Linked DNA regions of Homo sapiens: all the other regions are linked to region 3. Evidence: promoter capture Hi-C in 16 types of primary human blood cells and fetal thymus (Javierre and others, 2016). All regions are on one chromosome and are shown on one strand. Each heading gives the region's core, a stretch centred on a gene start or on the middle of the fragment in contact. The rest is flanking DNA. Distances are from core to core; before and after follow the strand shown. Region 1 overlaps MYT1L (myelin transcription factor 1 like). Region 2 overlaps MYT1L (myelin transcription factor 1 like). Region 3 holds the start of ALLC (allantoicase).

The links. The method cuts DNA at HindIII sites, captures the fragments that hold promoters and counts their contacts. A CHiCAGO score of 5 or more calls a contact.
Region 1: a contact is called between a fragment that was not itself captured here and the fragment with the promoter of ALLC in region 3, in 2 of 17 cell types (M2 macrophages and total B cells). The highest score is 5.1, in M2 macrophages.
Region 2: a contact is called between a fragment that was not itself captured here and the fragment with the promoter of ALLC in region 3, in 4 of 17 cell types (M0 macrophages, M2 macrophages, endothelial precursors and 1 more). The highest score is 7.5, in M0 macrophages.

The regions. Positions count from the first base shown.
Region 1 is chr2:1,895,084-1,899,409 of GRCh38, forward strand. All of the region lies in intron 14 of MYT1L (myelin transcription factor 1 like), which reads right to left. Among named protein-coding and RNA genes, the nearest start is that of PXDN, 150 kb to the left of the region's middle. The HindIII fragment of the contact is 8,246 bases long and covers 1-4,326 here.
Region 2 is chr2:1,876,605-1,881,272 of GRCh38, forward strand. The region is part of intron 18 of MYT1L (myelin transcription factor 1 like); the gene reads right to left. Among named protein-coding and RNA genes, the nearest start is that of PXDN, 130 kb to the left of the region's middle. The HindIII fragment of the contact is 837 bases long and covers 1,326-2,162 here.
Region 3 is chr2:3,656,012-3,660,423 of GRCh38, forward strand. ALLC (allantoicase) reads left to right here and starts at 2,189. Exons shown (of 12, transcript NM_018436.4): 1 at 2,189-2,283. RefSeq lists a silencer at 4,058-4,334. The HindIII fragment of the contact is 6,896 bases long and covers 1-4,412 here.

The DNA of each region.
Region 1 (4,326 bases), core at 1,526-4,025, 1.8 Mb before region 3:
CAAGCAGGCAATCCCATTCACAGTAGCCACAAAGAAAAGGAAATACCTAGGAGCACAGCTCACCAAGGAGGTGAACAATGTCCACAAGGAGAGCTACAAAACACTGCTGAAAGAAATCAGAGACGACACAAATAAATGGAAAAATGTCTCATGTTCATGAATTGGAAGAATCAATATTGTTAAAATGGCCATACTGCCCAAAGCAATCTGCAGATTCAATTCTATTCCTATCAAACTACCAACGTAATTCTTTACAGAGTTAGAAAAACAATGATTCTAAAATTTCTATGAAATCAAAAAAGAGCCCAAATAGCCAAAGCAATCCTAAGCAAAATGAACAAAGCCAGAGGTTACACTCTACCTGACTTCAAAGTACACGATAAGGCTACAGTAACCAAAATAGCTTGGTACTGGTGTAAAAGCAGACACACAGACCAATGGAACACAATAGGAAACTCAGAAATAAAGCCACGCACCTACAACCATCTGATCTTTGATAAGGCCAATGAGAACAAGCAGTGGGGAAATGGTACTGGGATAATGGCTGAGCTATTTGTAGAAGAATGAAACTAGACCCATACTTTTGCCATATACAAAAATTAACAAGATGGATTAAAGATGTAAATGTAAGATGTCAAACTATAAAAATCTGAGAAGAAAACCTAGGAAATACCCTTTTCAACACTGGCCTTGGCAAATATTTTTTTTGACTAGGTCTCCAAAAGCAATTGCAACAAAAACAAAAATAGACAAGAGGGACCTAATTAAACAAAAGAGCTTCTGCACAGCAAAAGAAACTATCAACGGAGCAGACAGATAACCTACAGAATAGGAGAAGATATTCACAAACTATGTCAGATGACAAATGCCTAATATCTGACATCTATAAGGAACAAATACTTCAACAAACAAACCACAAATAACCCCATTAAAAATGGGCAAAGAACATGAACAGACACTTCTCAAAAGAAGACATACAAGTGGCCAACAGCCATGTGATAAAATGCTCAACATCACTAATCACCAGAGAACTGCAAATCAAAACCACAGTGAGACAGCATCTCATACCAGTCTGAATGGCTATTATTAAAAAGCCAAAAACAGCAGATGCTGGAGAGGCTGTGGAGAAAAGAGAACACTTATACATTCTTGGTGGAAATGCAAATTAGTTCAGCTACTGGACAGTAGTTTGAAGTTTTCCCAAAGCACTTAAAACAGAGCTACCATTAGACCCAGCAGTCCTGTTACTGAGATTTACCCAAATGAAAATAGATCGTTGTACCAGAAAGACACATGCACTCGTATGCTCATCACCATGCTCTTCACAATAGCAGAGGCACAGAATCAACCTAGGCGCCCATCAGTGGTGGATTAGATAAAGAAAATGCGGTACATAGACACTCTGTGATACTATGCAGCCATAAAAACAATAAAGTCTAAAGTCATGTCATTTGCAGTAACATGGATGGTGCTGGAGGCCACAAACCTAAATGAATTAATGCAGGGACAGAAAACTTTGTACCACATGTTCTTACTTGTAAGTGGGAGCTAAACATAGAGCACACAGGGACATAAACATGGGAACAATCGACACTGTGGACACTAGAGAGGGGAGTGGGTTGGAGAAATACCTCTTGGGTACTGTGTTCACTACCTGGGTGCAATATGCCCGTGTAATGAACATGCACAGGTACCCTCTGTATCTAAAATAAAAGTTGAAACAAAAAAGAAAAATGCTACCTCTATGTGACAACATTTTACTTGAAAGAATTTTTAACTAAAACGACTCTCTGCATTTCTTCCTCTCATCTTACTTGAATCACCTTAAATTATCCTGAAGTTATAAAATGTAGATGTGACGATGCATTGACTTTCCCAGATATTTAATTCATAAGATGCTACAACTAGATGACGCCAAGTGGATGGTACCGAATTTTAGTCGGTGACTGAACTGTCAAGAGTCTTTTGATGTGCCTATCAACTCACTGCACTCAAATGGGCAACTAAGACAGTATCTACTTTCACATGCATCCTTTACTGAATATAAAAATGTCATTTAAAAGTTTTAATTAAAACAAAAATAAAAATAAGAGGGCCTACAGTTAAAATTGCTCAGGAAAGGAAGGTCATTGGTCCTAATAATTATCCCTATTTGTAAAATGTCAGCACAGCCCTTCATGCCAGTATCTTTTGGACCACAATCAGCATTGCTCGGCTCAGTGCCCTGACAGCAGGGGGCGCTGCAGAGCAGGGGCTTCAAATTGAGGGTGCTCTGTTCCCCCTCTTCCAGCACAGAGGATGCTTGGTCTGATGAGAGCAGTTTCACAATGACAGAATGCACTTTCTTTTTCTTTTCGCAAACAAAACTTTTTTTTTTTTTGTTTGTTTGTTTGTTTTGAGATGGAGTCTCACTCTGTCACCCAGGCTGGAGTGCAGTGGCATGATCTCAACTCATTGCAATCTCTGCCTCTCAGGCTCACGTGATTCTCTTGCCTCAGCCTCCTAAGTAGCTGGGATTACAGGCGCCCACGACCATGCCCGGCTAATTTTTGTATTTTTAGTAGAGACAGGGTTTCACCATGTTGGCCAGGCTGATCTCAAACTCCTGACTTCAGGTGATCTGCCTGCCTTGGCCTCCCAAAGTCCTGGGATTACAGGCATAAGCCACCACGCCGGCCCAGAGCTATTTTTTGATCAAATTTTTTTTCAGTCCATCAGCAGACAAGAATGTGTTAATGTTCTTCCAGGCGCCCAGAACATCACTGTATGTTACGAGCAATGCAGCAGCTTTAACTCTAGATGCCAGAGCTGCCTTCAAACAGGAGCAGCCGCTGGATCTTAAACCATCCTAAAAATACCTCTTCAACTATTCCATTTCCTCTACTGCAGGAAAAAAGGAAAAGCACACAGGATTTGTGTGATTAAATACAGCTGTTGATGTAATAATAATAAACAAAACAAAAAAATACAAAACCTTCCAGGTAGGACCTTTTCATTCACCTACTCTGCTTGTGAAATTCTTACTAAATGTACATGCCTTGTTCTAGAAATGCCTATTGCCTTATGTATTCACCTTTTCTTGCAGAGAATAGATAAACATGTCTCCACAATATGAATTTCCATGAAAACCAGACAAATGCAATCACAAGATGTCCATCATGGAGATGTCTCCACTAGCTGGGACCCAGTGATCTTTAGACCTAACTTGATTCAGGTCCTAATCTGTGGCACTGAGTCTCATAGTCTTTACACACGTCCAACTAGTGTTTCAAGTAAGTTGAAATACGGACGTCTAATCTTACATGGGAAAGAATGGAGCTTTCTAGCCTGTGGGATGACATCTCCAAGGCACACGGTCTACTTGCTAGAGTTGAGCTGATGTCCAAAGGGCGTCGAGGTCCAGGTTTCAGGCTCTCTTTTCCTCAGTGTCCTTGGCACAGCTACTGCCTGCCTGGCCTGCCCTGGCCCTAGAGGGTGGAGCGAATCTGCAGACCCGGCCTGTGACCTAGCAGGAGCTTGCGGCCCGTGGGAAGACAGGCCGTCTTGGCAGGTGGTACCCAAGAGGTGACACAGCCATGCTGCAGGGCAGAGTGTGGCACCGAGCTCCATGGACGCAGGCAGCTGGAGAGTGGTAGGAAGGGCCGCGGACTGCCTGCAGGAGGAGAAAACTTCACCAGGGAGCGGCCTCTGCTCAGGTAGAGAGGCCATGGGGAAGTCGGGCAGGTGGAGGGAAGAAGGGAGCTCTGCAGGCGGGCGTGGTGGGGCTGGAGACAGAGGGCCAGGGAGGTGCACTCCAGAGGAGTCATGAAGGAGAGAATGAGCTGAGTCTGCAGCTGCCCAGGCAGTCAGGGGAGTTGTCTGTGTGGCCAGGAGGGCAGGGAGCAAAGAAGAGGAAGTGCCAAGATGATAGGAAGGTCTGAGCGCTGGAGAATTTGGAAGCTGGGAATAATCAAAAGGAGAACATGGGCAGAGCCCATTTGGGGGCTGGTAACCTGACAGGATTAGGCCCCCAAGGGTGGGGTGTGTTGCCTGGAGACACAGCAAAGGTGGAGATATAATAGGCCAGGGGTTGGCAACTTTTTCTGGAGAGGATTTTGTAGCAAATGTTTCGGCTTTGGGAACTGCGCGATTGTTTTTGTGGCCACTTGGCTCTGCCCTGCACTGTGGGAGCAACCGCAGCCTGCCCGCCAAGCCCTGAGGGCAGCCAGGTGCCAACGGCACCCTATGCATGGCATGGAAACAGAATTTCACACAGCTTTTATAGATCAGAAAATATTATTTGTCAATTGTGCTTTTCTGCAATTCTTTAAAAATGTCAAAGCCATT
Region 2 (4,668 bases), core at 494-2,993, 1.8 Mb before region 3:
TGAGTCCCCGCAGCTGACCCTATGCGTGCCGCCATTGAAACCTCAGCACCTGCTGCCTCCCATCCCAGCCCTGCACCCCACTGCCAGGGCTCCGGACTGGCCTCTAACTGCAAGACATCGGGGAGATTTGAGAAGCAACGTCTCACTCAGGACAGAACTAAAGTCCTGCCAAGACCAGTGACCTCAGGTGATCTGATGCCTATGCAGCTCTGCTGCTCTAGAACTTTCTCCCTGCCCCTCCTCTGCTGGCATCCCGATGTCTTCTAAGCATGCTGGGACTATGTGTCCGCCGTCTCCCCAAATGTCAGACCAGGGGAGGACGCAGACATGGCTTGCTCACCCTGCTGGAGACTCAAGCTGAGTCTCCTTATGACCAGGGTCCCACGGGAGGACCACAGCTCAGAGAACACCACACAGTCAGTCCGTGGTTCTGTAGGATAAATTATAACCCTGCAGCAGAAAAACCCACTCCGCAAAGCCCTTCAGCATCTAAGCTCTGCCTATCATCACCCTAGCTCTGGGGAGACCCCCGTGGTTGCAGCTGCATAGGTGAGGAAGGAGCCCTCATGGAGAACACAGGCTTCAGAATGCCTGGATTCCTGGTGCTGGAGACTTTTATCACTTGTTGGCTATGATGGAAGCTGCAAAAACACATTTTCCCCGAAATATGATGCAGCGATTAAAAATAAGATATATGACTTATATGCTAAGCAGAAAAGCAGGTTTCAATCACATTGTGATTGCACAAAAATGCAAACATATCTGTGAGAGTGGTGAGTTTATACATATTTTTTCTTTTTTCCAAGTCTTTTCTTTCTCAATTTTTTGAGCTTATATTAGGTTTATGTCCAAAAAGTCATTGAAAAACTTCCTTGCTCGACTGATATTTTCTCCCCTTTGCTAAGAGGATGCATTTGTGCCAGAAGCAGGTGCTTTTATATATCAGGTAGATTTTTTATCCTTGTTCAGTAAGAGTGCATGATGAACGCCATCAGCACTTGGCCAAGGGAGAGGGACATGAACGGTGAGAGCTGAGGAATGGGACCTGGCTGCTCGCACGCCTGTGCTGGGACAGGCAGGGGTTCCGGGCGCGGCCATGGCTGTGAGCAGTTCTGCTGAACTCTGCTTGCTCTCAGTTGGCTCTGAGACCAAAAATTGCCTAAAATAGGTCACCTGTTTGTATCCTAAATTGTAGAAAAAAAAAATGCATGATAATGACATCTTCCTAATTCAACATGAAAACTAACTGGGACCAGGGAAGTGCTGGGGTCCCCCTCCGTGGACTAAGCTTTTCTCTGCAGGTAGTGCTAATTAATGCATCAGCAAGCTTGGGAGAGAAATATCGAAGATACAGGTGGAAACAGGCTTCCAAGAACTTGAAGGCCCCAATTATTAGCCATGTATGTGTTAATTACGTCGGGTTTATTTAGTCACTGAAGGAGGTGGCCTGTGGCCCTCTCTTTGATAACACCTGATTAACTAAATGTGAATTTCTGCCCATGCTTGAAAGTAATCAAGTTGCATGGTTTTTCACAATAGTGTAACTGAGTCTTTCCAGTAACTTCTATTGAGTGCTGCCCCAGTGCTCGTCCCAAACAGTGAGGTTTGCACTCATCTCACCGTGCAGCTTGCAGGTATTCCATTCTGAAAATGGTAACACTGACATTTACTTCACATTTAATCTGTCTACAAACTGCATTAAACAAAAAAAGATACCAGTATATTAATAAAAAATTATTAAACTGTTTGTCAGTGGCTTAGTAGTATAAGCCAGATGCTTAAAAAATATAAACTGTTCAGTTTCAGAAATGGAATATTCCTACACGTTTGTTAGAATGTAATTCTAATTAGAATTAAGATAATTTCTCTTGTTCTTTGTGTAGTAAAAACCACACAAAGAACAATATAAAATAAGTGTAAGGTTCTCTTGGGCACTGTCCAGTGTGTACACCTGCTTGGTGTATGTGGGCATTTAAGTTTGAATTAATGAAGATGAAATACGATCAAGAATGCACTTCCTTAGCCACGGCAGCCTCATTCAAGCAGCTTGTGACTTTCATGTGGGACAGCACAGAACAGGCAACTTCATCCCAGAAAGCTCCATCGGGCATTTCAGGCTCTCATTTCCATAACCAAGTCACATTTTATTTTAATTATTAGAAAGCTTTTTCTTAAAAACATCAGGTAAGTGTGGGATGTCCAACCTCTTTACATTCTTATAATATTCTCAATTTCTCTTTGGAGGTAGACGAGATGTCTCCATCTCTCATTCATGAATAGAAACATGTAATCACCTGTAGAACCTAGGGACTTTTAAAATGTCATTAAATGGAATTGACTAGTGTCAGAAACAAACCTCTTTCTGTAAAAATGCAAAAAAACAATACAAGAGAAGAGAAGAGAAGTAATTTCCCTGAGTCACCACCCCTGGAAGGCCACAGATCACATGTAAGAGAGAGCACAGCAATAGGTTGAAATTGCAGACGTGGCTGTGAGCTTTCCTGCTTCCCCGGCCCCTGTGCACCCAACGGCCCTTGAGTTCCTTCAAAGCCTTTCACTCAAGAAAGCGCCTGGGAGAGAACGAGTCTCTCCTGAAATGGCCAGGAAATCCCAAATCCTTGTCAATCATTTCCCAAAGGGAGCATCTACTTTATTTCCAATTTCATTCATTTTGCTCCAGGGAACTATAAATTAGTGAAGTGTTTACTAGATTAAAACCTCAGATGTACAATTAAAGGACAACATAACCTCCTCATTCTGACTAGACTCTCCCATCACAGAGTGCTGGCTTCTCATCCTTCTTGCTGCCCAGAGTCAGATGTGGGGGCCCATGAAGTCCAAGAAAGCTCACTTCTCAGAGCCACTCCAGAGGAGCCCAGAATTCCTCCAAATTAGAAGAGGCCAAATTTAATTAGGTGTGAAATATGAAGAGACCTCAAACAATGTAACATGTCTCATGAAAGGAAATGTGTCCATCTTTGAAACCTAGACCAAAAAATAACAAAAAATGTGTGTGTGCAAAGTAATAATATATATTTATAGTTTAGTAATATATGTGTATATATATTTTAAATAACTTTAAAACTTCAGTACTTACAATTATAAGGACAATAAATTCTTCCTTCTGTTCATGTGTGACAGGAATACTGTATATATTAAAAAGTCATCCGGAAGTTAAAAAATCAATGTATTTAAAAATTTTTGAAATAGGTTGTATAAGATGCATTATTTTACATTTGATTTGATGACATGATTTTTGTTTGAAAGTATGCAATACAATTCAGTAGTTTCTGATGTTTGTATTAAATGTTTCATAATTTTGAAATGAAAGAATGGAATGCTAAGAAACATTTCATTAAAAATCTTCCTCATGATTTTCTTCTGAATTTAAAATGTTCCAAAATTTGTCACAATAAAAACCAAAAACATCACAAAGCCAGCTTCAGTGAACAGTTAGGAATTTACCTTAATTCCCTGGGAGAGTCGAGCTCCCTACCTCTGAGTTCAATCAAGCCACCATCCTTGAAAACTGCCTTTTAGATGGCTTAAGGCAAACAGATCAATTTGGTCAAGAAGCCGGTAAATATGGCAAATTAAAGATAAAATAAAATGTCAGTAGAAGCCACCCTCTCTTCAGCAAACAATATGCTGACGCTGCCAAAGTGTAGGCTGCAAAGGTAAAAACATTCTTGGCCTGAGCAATGAATGAGGTAAGGTAAGATGGAGAAAGCTCTTTTTATTTTTACTTTTCGAGACAGACTCTCACTCTGTCACACAGGCTGGAGTGCAGTGGCGCGATCTCGGCTCACTGCGACCTCTGCCTCCCGGGTTCCAGTGATTCTTGTGCCTCAGCCTCCTGAGTAGCTAGAACACTTTTAAATGAGACTTTATTTTCTTAACTGACTGTAGATGGGGCAGTCAGGTCTACATGCAGCATGTTTCATTTAGTTTTCAGAAGAATGAATAATGAAATATAAATGAAAAATGGAAAAGTTTCATTTTGTGGGGATTTTTGTACACAGTTGTTGTCAGTGGTAACAGGTATTGAATGTCAGGTGTGTGCTTGCTACCAGTACTGTCCCGCTTCACAGGGAAGGAAACTGAGGCACAGGGAGATTGACAGTGATCTCCAATGACTGGAAAACCCATGGTCTGCGTTTTCTTTTGCACAAAGAACCTCTCCATGAAAAGCAGAGCATCTTGGCCACTGGCCTCTGATCCTGCCACCTCTTGCCTCCTTGTATTACCCAAGTCTGAGTTTTTACTCAGTGAATTTTAATATTTTCTTCATCAAAACCAAGACAATGGCGAGGCATAAACAGACGGACCTGCACTGCGTTTCAAATATTGCTGGAGAACTTTAGGAATGTTTCATCAAGCCCTTTAAAAAGCTGAACACTAAAGGTTCTCGATGTGGTGGTTGTTTTGTTTTTGGCTGGCTTGTGCGTCAGTATAGTTAGTTAAAAGAAGTCAGATTCAGCCCAAACCCCAATGCCTGGGTCCCTCCCTTAATAATCCAGGTCTCAGGCTTACTGTGAGAGGAGGAGGAGGCAGGAAGAAAGATTCGCAGCAGGGACCCTCCCCACTTGTAGCCTCTTCCACTGGGCCTAGGGAGGCTCCTGCTGCTGGGCTCGCCCTGACAGTGGACTTGAGAAACAGAAGGAAAGA
Region 3 (4,412 bases), core at 939-3,438:
GGGGGAGGAAGAGGTGGGAGGTTGTTGTGCCTGAAGAGTGGACATTTCCTCAACATCAGGTCCCCACCTAGTGAGCGGGACACCCACTTCAGCCAGGGGCTGCGCAGGGGTCGGGAGGAGCCCGTCCAGGCAGCCAGCACCTCCATCATCGCAGGCTGATCTCCTTGCCTCCTGGGAGCCCAGGGAGGCCGGGGATGGCGGCATTATTCTGAGGGTGCTCCAGCCCTTTCCATGAGAATCCTCATGTCTTGGCAGGACCAAGGCAGGAGGGTTGAAGCCCCTACGGAGCTCCGAGAACAGCCTCACGTCTGGCTCAGGCCACTGCTCTGGGACCACCTCTCTGCCAGCTCTTGTTCTCCTCCCGCCCCACAGATGGGTCCACAGGACGTCTGCTGTGCCACGATGGAAAGTTCTGTAGCTGTGCAGCCCAGCCTGTCGCCTCTGCCGCATGTGGCTGTTGGGCACTAGAAACTTACCTCATAAGACAGAGCATCCAAACTTTTAACTTCACTAAATTAAGTTGATTTTAGCGTTAGAGAAGTATTGAATTTAGCATAGCTAGTGGCTGCCACGTCGGATGGGGCAGCTAGCTGGCAGAGCCCTGTGCTCAACCTCTGGCCATGGCCCAGCAGCCCCAGCATCGCCCTGGAGCTTGGAGAAATCTCAAGCCTCAGGCCGTATCTCAAATCTGCAGCGTCAGAATCTGCACTTTAACCAGCTCGTAGGTGATTTGGAAGCACATTAGATTGTAGGAGCCAGCTCGGTGTGGAGGGCAGAGGTCAGGGTGTGGAGGGCAGGGGTCAGGGTGTGGAGGGCAGAGGTCAGGGTGTGGAGGGCAGGGGTCAGGGTGCCTTCTTCCATGGCTTTATCGGTGCCACAGCCTAGGCTTAGCGAAACCACGAGGATAAAAATAGGCCCTTCTGTTCTCCGCACCGTGAGCTTTGTGACTGATCCGAGGCGGCGAGCGGGGGCACTGCACTGCTGTGGCGGGGAAGTCACGGCTGACAAGAACTGCCAGGGACGAAGCCACGTGCATTAATTCATTAAAATACAGTCAGCTATGGAAGGCAGCATAGGATGTGGTTTCGTTCTTAAAGAATTTCATCTGGATGGGCAGACAGATGTGTAAACATGGACTCAAAGGCCGGGCGAGCTGAGATCAGACAACAGGCGCTGGACGCATCCTAACTACGGCTGGGTGGCGGGGCTGAGAGACGGGCTGGGGTTGGGGGTGGGGTTCTCAGTTGGAGGTGGCCTTGAGCCGGCCTTTCAAATGGCTTTGCTTTCCTCTGGGAAAGCTGGAGTTCAGGAGGAGAAGGCCGGTCAGGCCCTGGGGAAAGAAAACCCAGGAAGGAAAAAGGAGCGTGTGGGTGATGGATCTCCCTGGGACGCAGGTTGTCTTTCTGGAGCCCCAAGGGCCCCTGTGCGCGCCATCTGCTGTGCTGGGTTCTGGTTCCAGCTCAGTCCCTCCCTGCGCAGGTGACCTCGGGTGGCTTTCCTGCCTTCAAGGCCCCAGCTGATTCATCTGCAGAGTGGATAGCTTGCCCCGCAGGGTGGCTGTGGTGAAGCAAGGCAACGTCTGTTACTGCATGTCGAAGCCGGGCTCAGCTGTTTCTTTCTGCATGGAAAGTTCTTCTGCAGACAGTGGGGCCTTTGAAGGCAGGCGGCACGTGTTGTTTTGTATGCCACAGGCCTAGCATCCACTTGGCAAGGTGCCCTTTCTTAAGCATCTGTGGGCTTCTTTAAATTCCATGAAAATTTTGTGTGTATTTACTTTTTCTGGGGCTGAGGGGCTCTAGCCAAACCCTCCCAAGGGCCCCTGTCTTCTCTAGTAGGTCAGGACCCACTGCTGGGTGTGCTCAGTGTTTTCTGAGTTAATGATGATTAGTGAATAGGTGACGTCTAGAGATAAAACTTTAAGTCAGGTTACTGGCCGGACCAGGAAGGTGGGGGTTTCAGGCCCAGGCCAGTGGCCGGAGGCAGCTTTGTTAGGGACAGGGAAGGGCCCTGGGACCAGCAGGGACCATGTCTGGCTTCGGGCCTTGTGCGAGGGTCTTGCAGAGGCCTGCTTGGCTTCTCCGGGGAGGGGCTGCTCCCCCTGTTACTTCCACCTCTCTGCAACCCTTGTGACATCATACAGGCACAGCCAATCTCTGCAAAGTTCTGTCTCTACCTCAGGCCCCTATACATTCTCTCTGAGCTGGCACTCAAGCACCGTGGGACCTTGGCTGGCTTCTGGGGAGCAAGAGATCCATTTATGAATACTTGATTTCTGACTGCTGGGTGAGCTGGAGTGTGGTTTATAAATACCTTGCTATCTTTAAGGTGGGCTTTGCCAAAAGAATAGGGTGACAGAGATGAATTTCAGTCATGCAACGAACCCTCGACACTTGGAAGGTGACAGAGGGTAGATGGTGACAGACACCACTTTGTGCCGTTGAACTGTGTTGGTACCGGGCGTGGCCCAAACACCTGGAGGGGCCCCACAGGTGGGTCAGGCTTCTGGGCTCTGGTCACTGCTCTGTTTGGTTTCAAATCATGTGACTTTGGCCTTCTTAAAAAAAAATCTAAAGAGGCTGGGCATGGTGGCTCATGCCTGTAATCCCTGTACTTTGGGAGGCCGAGGTGGGTGGATTGCTTGAGTTGAGGAGTTTGAGACCAGCCTGAACAACATGGCAAGACCCCATTTCTACCAAAAATCAAAAAAATAGCCAGGCATGGTGGTGCGTGCCTGTGGTCCCAGCTACTTGGGAGGCTGACATGGGAGAATTGCTTGAGCCCGGGATGGGATTGGGGTGGAGGTTGCAATGAGCCAAGATCATGCCACTGTACTCCAGCCTGGATGACAGAGTGAGACCCTGTCTCAAAAAAAAAAAAAAAAAAACCTAAACAACTAAGGCCATGGTGAAGTAAACCTATATTCAAAACAAGAGTCACAAAGTAGAACTAAATGTAAATATATACCAAGAGTTGCCGGTAGTCAGGAGTCTCGTGCAGTTGACCTTGGGCTGCTCAGAGTCCCTGCTCAAGGTCACTCTAATTTTGTCCCAAATTTGAACAAACCACTTTTATTATTTCACCATAAATCTCATACTTTTGGCCAAAGGCTTCTTCGGAACTTATTGACAGCGATGACAAAGCCCCTGAAGGTTTTCTTCTTTACGAGGGAGTAACTCTTCCATCAGCACAGCCTTCCCTGCTTGTCAGAGGGAGGTCTCTCTTTCTTGTGCTTCCTAGACTTGCCTGGTCATGCCTTTTCTTATTTTAAGGCTAATCTCAAAAGAAAAAATAGTGTGAGCACCACTTGACTGCCTGAAATTTCATGACTCTATTTTAGAGAGTCATTGCCTCATCGCCTTGCCGTAACCCATGACAATGCTCCTCATTTGCGGTGATTAAGTTGAAATTTGCAGGTAAAACTTTAGCATGTTCCTCAAACATCAGAGCTGACCCTGGGTCTGGTCTCAGCCACAGCAGAAAATGTATTTAAGAGCTCCCTTGAGCAGGCAGTGGGAGGGGTTGCAGCAATGAGCTTAGAAGCAGCTGCCACAGGCTGTCTGAGCACTGTGAGCTGCTGAGCTGGTGGCCTCAGCCGAGGTCGCGTGGCTCCTTCCTTTCTTGCCTAGACCTTGGCTATTTTATCAACAGAAACGGCAGGGACCAGTGAGCAGAGAGCTCAGCAAGCTCATGGCGCAAGAGTCGTGGAGCTGTGACCTCCACCAGGGCTGAGAACGGCCCCTTATACCGCCAGCTCTTGGCTGCCTGGAATCTCTCGGGAACCTCCACGGGGCCCTGCACAGCACAGGCCACTGTGGATACTTCTGGGATTTGTGGCTGAGGAGAGAAACTTAGGAAAGACAAATGTCACGGCCCTTTCACAGCAGACACTGGTTGGGCCTGTGCTGTGGCCTGGAGGCCCAGCTTTAAACGGTCTCTCCTTTCTCACATTTTTTTATCTTAGGGGTGGGGAGACTTTTCACATAACAGCCTTTGAGGTTGTGGGGTGCTATGGTTTGGATGTTTGTCCCCCCAAACCTCATGGTGCAATCAGATCCCCCGTGTTGGAGGTGGGGCCCAGCGGGAGGAGTCTGGGTTATGGGGGCGGATCCCTCATGAATGGCTTGGTGCCGTTCTGGAGGTGGTGAGACGGTTCTTCCTCTGTTAGTCTGGTGAGAGCTGCTTGTTAGGAGGAGCCTGGCGTCCCTCCCACGCTTCCTCTTCTGCCCTGTGGTGGCTGCACGCCGGCTCCCTTCACTTCCTACCAGGAGTGGAAGCAGCCTGAGGCCCTCGCTGGAAGCATATGCTAGCGCCGTGCTTTCTGTACCGCCTGCAGAACCATGAGCCAAGTAAACCCCTTTTTTTAATGAATTGTCCAGCCTCAGGCATTCCTTCACAGCGACACAAATAGGCTA